Regions from separate parts of the Homo sapiens genome. Here region 2 is linked to region 1. Evidence: promoter capture Hi-C in 16 types of primary human blood cells and fetal thymus (Javierre and others, 2016). All regions are on one chromosome and are shown on one strand. Each heading gives the region's core, a stretch centred on a gene start or on the middle of the fragment in contact. The rest is flanking DNA. Distances are from core to core; before and after follow the strand shown. Region 1 holds the start of SYT10 (synaptotagmin 10). Region 2 has its middle 180 kb from the start of SYT10.

Region 1 (2,715 bases), core at 147-2,646:
AACCAAATGAAGCCTGCAGATTTTAGTTTGTCTTAATTCGTGGTAAAAATAGTCCTAGTTAAACCAATCGTCCTATGGATCAGGTCAAAATGATTCAACTAATGAATGCTTCCCTACTGGAGTGCTATGCCTAATATTTATACTAGGTTTACCATAGTCCTGTGCAAAGCAAATAATTTACCATGAACTGATTAGCTGTTTTTAAAAAAGACTACTTATTCTACTAGCATAGACACGCTAACAAGTTCAATGTATCCCACTTCAAAAATAAAGAATCCCTCATCACAAGAGGGTTAAATCAATCCTCAGGTTATGATATGGGATCAAACTCTGCCCGAAAACAGTTTAAAAACCATATAAACATATTATATCCTGAAGCCCATGTTTATTATTTTGTCGCTTTAGTTCTACTGATTTGCACCCATTTGCATTAAAGAATTATAAAAACAGGTGAGCTTAAGACATCCGAGTCCAAATCTCCCATTTTACAGACTCAGGCAAAGACCCGAAAGCAGGCCGGCCGTGGTGGCTAGTGCCAGCATTTTGGGAAGCTAAGGCGGTAGGATTGATTGAGCCCAGGAGTTCGAGACCAGCCAGGGCACCATAGTGAGATCCTTGTCTTTACAATAAGTTTAAAAAAAAAAAATAGCGCCTGGAGTCCCTGGAGTCCTAGCTACTAGGGAGGCTGAAGTAGGAGGATCGCCAAGACCTGAAAACAACTTCAAGGTTAGGCTGAGATGTGTGACAGATTTGAACTTAATCCTGTTCCCTTTAACACCCATGTCTTGTTTTAAGTCGCTAAGAAAGGAGATGGAGGGAGTCAAGTTGTGCATTCTCAATCGCCAATTACGGATTAATCGACAGAATCTTATCTGATTATTAGTACAAATAACATTTTATTTTGTGATCTACCTAAGAGGGTTTGCTTATTCACGCATTCTTTTTTCTAATTAACTTTTTCAGTTTTTCTTCGATTGGGATGACTTTTCCAGAAGGGCAGAAGCAGATAGCACAGAAAGTAGAATACATCCGTGGAAAAGTTGGAGAGACAAAGGCGGCGGGGATGGCTGCACTGATGCAGGGAAAAGTATTGGGAAAACGGAGAGGGCTCCTCGGGCCAACTCTGGGCAACGATGAGCATCCCCGGCCTCGGCAGGGGCGCCGGGCCGCCCGCCCTCCCTCCCTCCCTCCCTCGCGAGTCCCTTCTTCAGAGGACGCGGGGAGCCGGGTCTGCGCGCTCCGCCGCCTGTCACCTAGCGCCCGCGCCGGGCTGCGATTGGACGCGTCGCCGCCAGGCACCCGCCAGAAACACCAGTGCGCTGGGGAGAGGAGGGGGGCGTGCTTGCGAGTCGAGGGCTTGCTTTGGCTTTTTTACGGCTCCCCCCTCCCCTCAGCACTCCATGCCGGGTCTCTAGTTCCAGCGCGCCTCGGCTCGCTCGCGCGGCGGGAGAGTTGGCGCAAACCTCGCGGCAGCCGCAGCCTCCTCGCGCGCCTCTCCTTCCCCTACGCCCTCCGCTCCCGCCATGGGGCCAACGTGGGGCTCCTAAGAGTTGCCGGCTCTCAGCGGCGCAATCTCCAGCCAAAGTCACCGCGGGCGGACTATGGCTTAGGGCGCCAGAGGGGTTAGAGGTACGGGAAGAGGAAAAGACGGCTAACTGGGAAAAAAAGAGAAAACGAAAGAAAAGCCAAACGATGAGTTTCCACAAGGAGGACGGAGTGAACAGTCTGTGCCAGAAGGCTCTGCACATCGTCACCGAGCTGTGCTTCGCCGGCCAGGTGGAGTGGGAGAAGTGCTCGGGCATCTTCCCTCGGGACAGGGGCAGCCAGGGCGGAAGCAGCACAGGTAACCGGGAGGGCTCCGCTCGCGTCCTCGCGCTCCGCTGGGACCCCGCGCGCTAGGCTGCAAGCTCCGGGGTTCTGCGCCTCCCGCGCCGCTCCCGCGGCATATTTGGGGCGCCACGCTTTCCTACCTCGCTCCTTCCTTCGCTCAGCTCCTGACGACTTCGAGGGTGGGGCGTTTGGGTTTTGTTTCCTCCTGTCCACCTGCCGGGCTTCTCCCATTCTCTGGTCCGCTTCCCGCCTCCCGGCGCCGTCTCCCGCTCCCAGCCTCGCCGCGCCTCTCCGCGTTCTCCCACGCCTCCCATCTCCCTCCCGGAGTGGAGAAGTGAGTGCGGGCGGTGACGGCGCCGGGACGGCTCGCGGCTTGGCTGCTTGTGGGGGCGGCTCACCTGTGGGACTAGGGCTGCTCTCGCTCGTTCCACCGGCCGCTGGTCCCGGCCTTGTTGATGGGGGCCAGGCGGGACGGACAAGCCATGCTTGGACGCAGAACTCCCTTGCAGAGGTGGCTGCCTTGGCCTCCGAGGTAACCCGCGGCTGCAACCTGTCGGGCACCTGACAATTTCTAAAGCCCTTTTAATATATATGATTTTCTAGGGTTTCATGACAAAGTTGGTAAAACAAGGATTATTGATCCCATTTGTGAGGCGACACCTAAAGCTCAGAGCACATATCGAAGAAGTGGAAGAGAGGGGAGACGTTTAAAATCCCTAGCACACGCACGCTCTCAGACATCCAACTCACAGACGTCCTCCCTACCCTTCAGGAAACTAGGAAATGGGCTGGATGCAGGAGGATATCGACCGTCGGAAATCTGGAGATGGAAAAAAGTCTCAAGTGGATTTTCCTCAAGGCTTGGGGGTGGAAAGGATCGAATCC
Region 2 (2,700 bases), core at 85-2,584, 180 kb before region 1:
GATACAATGGAGGTAAAGGCATTGGGTAAATACACACATTGCAAATGGGAGGAATTGAACAAAATGAAGGGGATACAGGCTCCATGCAAGTCTGAAATCCAGTGGTGCAGTCAAATTGTAAACCTCCAAAATGATCTCCTTTGACTGCATGTCTCACATTTAGCTTACCATGATGCAAGAGGTGGATTCCCATGGTCTTAGGCACCTCCATCCCTATGGCTTTGCTGGATACAGCCCCCATCCTAGCTGCTTCATGGGCTAGCATTGAGTATCTGTGGCTTTTCCAGACACATGGTGTAAGCTGTGGGTGGATCTACCATTCTGTAGTCTAGAATATGGTGGCCCTCTTCTCACAGCTCCACTAGGCAGTGCCTCAGTGGGACTCTGTGTGGGGGATCCACGCCAAATTTCCCTTCTGCATTACCCTAAGTAGAGGTTCTCTACTCTGCCTGGACATCTATGTGTTTCCCTACATCCTCTGAAATCTAGGTGGAGGTTCCCAAACCTCAATTTTTTACTTCTGTGCACCCACATGCCCAAAACCATGTGTAAGCCACTAAGGCTTGGGGCTTTCACCCTCTGAAGCAATGGCCTGAATGCTACGTCCACCCCTTTCAGCCACTGCTGAGATGCAGGGCACCAACTTTTTTTTTTTTTTTTTTTTTTTTTTTTTGAGACGGAGTCTTGCTCTGTTGCTCTGTTGCTCTGTTTCACTCCAGGCTGGAGTGCAGTGGTGCGATCTCGGCTCACTGCAAGCTCCACTTCCCGGGTTCATGCCATTCTCCTGCCTCAGCCTCCCGAGTAGCTGGGACTACAGGCGCCCACCACCATGCCTAGCTAATTTTATTTTTTTTTGTACTTTTAGCAAAGACGGGGTTTCACCGTGTTAGCCAGGATGGTCTTCATCTCCTGACATCGTGATCCGCCTGCCTTGGCCTCCCAAAGTGTTGGGATTGCAGGCGTGAGCCATCGCGCCCGGCCAAGGGCACCAACTTTTGAGACTGCACAAAGCAACAAATCCCTGGGCATGGCACAGGAAACCTTTTCTCTCCTAGGCCTCTGAGCCTGTGATGAGACGAGCTGATGTGAAGACCTCTGACATGCCTGGGAGACATTTTCTCCATTATCTTGGCAATTAACATTTGGCTCCTCATTACTTATGCAAATTCCTGAAACCTGCTTGAATTTCTCCTCAGAAAATGGGTGTTTCTTTCCTAGCACATCATCAGGGCTGCAAATTTTCTGAACTTTTATGTTCTGCTTCCCTTTAAAACATAAGTTCCAATTCCAAACCATATCCTTGTGAATGAATAAAACTGAATGCTTTTAAGAGCACCCAAGTCACCTCTTGAACACTTTGTTGCTTAGAAATGTCTTCAGCCAGATACTCTAAATCATCCCCCTCAAGTTCAAAGTTTCACAGATCTCTAGGGCAGGGGCAAAATGCCACCAGTCTTTTTGCTAAAGCATAGCAAGAATCACCTTTGCTCCAGTTTCCAATAAGTTCCTCATCTCCATCTGAGACCATCTCAGCCTGGACTTTATTGTCCATATCATTATCAGCACATTGGTCAAAGCCAGTCAACAAGTCTCTAGGAAGTTCCAAACCTTCCCACATTTTCCTGTATTCTTCTGAGCACTCCAAACTGTTCCAAGCTCTGTCTGTTACCCAATTCCAAGGCTGCTTCCACATTTTTGGGTATCTTTACAGCAGCGCCCCACTACCTGGTACCAGTGTACTGTATTAGTCCATTCTCACACTGCTAATAAAAACACACCAAGACTGGGTAATTTATAAAGGAAAAAGAGGTTTAATGTACTCACAGTTCCACATGGCTAGGGAGGTGTCACAATCATGGAGGAAGGCAAAGGAGGAGCAAAGGCACATATTACATGGCAGCAAGCAAGAGAACATAGCAGGGGAACTGCCCTTTATAAAACCATAAGATCTTGTGAGACTTATTCACTATCACAAGAACAGCACAGGCAAAACCTGCCCCCATGATTCAATTACCTCCCACCAGGTCCCTCCAATGACGTGGGGATTATGTGAGTTACAATTCAAGACGAGATTTGGGTGGGAACATAGCCAAACCATATCAGTACTAGTTAAGTCCAGTTGAGGCAGGGTGTAACTCTGGGTGGAAATGATTCTATAAGAGCTTTTGAATTTTCTTTCTATCTCCAGTGTAGTTTAGCTTTATTAATGAAGGAATATTCATTCAAGTTGCAGGAAGTATAACTTAAGAAACAAGTGATAAATTCAGTTCAGGTATGAGACACCTAGAGGAAATTGGGTGGCAGTTGGAAGTGAAGGAGTGTGCATGAAATTTCAGAAGAGAAGATTAAGCTCAACATTCTGGTTAGAAAATCATCAGTGTATACATGGTAATTGAGGTCATGGATGAAAATAACTTATTTTCCCCATGGTAGCTTTTTACCAGTAAGTCATTAATATGTACCTTTCTTTTAAGACGTTAATATTTTTATTGGAAACATAATTATCCATAGAAAAATATAATTAATGTTTAAAATGCAGAAAACAGCAGTGGGAAATATATGGAGAACCAGATTTTTATCTCTTTAAAAATAAGATTCTATCATAAAGACAGTTGTATTCTCAGCCAATCTTTAAAGATAGACATCTGCAAGTATGACATTGATTAAATATATTTTCATAAACTAATCCACCATAATGAT

Evidence for each region. Contacts are between HindIII fragments. The CHiCAGO score rates a contact against its expected background, and 5 or more counts as called.
Region 2: a contact is called between a fragment that was not itself captured here and the fragment with the promoter of SYT10 in region 1, in 1 of 17 cell types (neutrophils). The highest score is 5.6, in neutrophils.

Annotation. Positions count from the first base shown.
Region 1 is chr12:33,438,500-33,441,214 of GRCh38, reverse strand. SYT10 (synaptotagmin 10) reads left to right here and starts at 1,396. Exons shown (of 7, transcript NM_198992.4): 1 at 1,396-1,843. The coding sequence starts at 1,693. RefSeq lists an enhancer at 1,669-2,485. The HindIII fragment of the contact is 7,804 bases long and covers 1-2,715 here.
Region 2 is chr12:33,616,607-33,619,306 of GRCh38, reverse strand. No RefSeq gene overlaps it. Among named protein-coding and RNA genes, the nearest start is that of SYT10, 180 kb to the right of the region's middle. The HindIII fragment of the contact is 8,094 bases long and covers 1-2,700 here.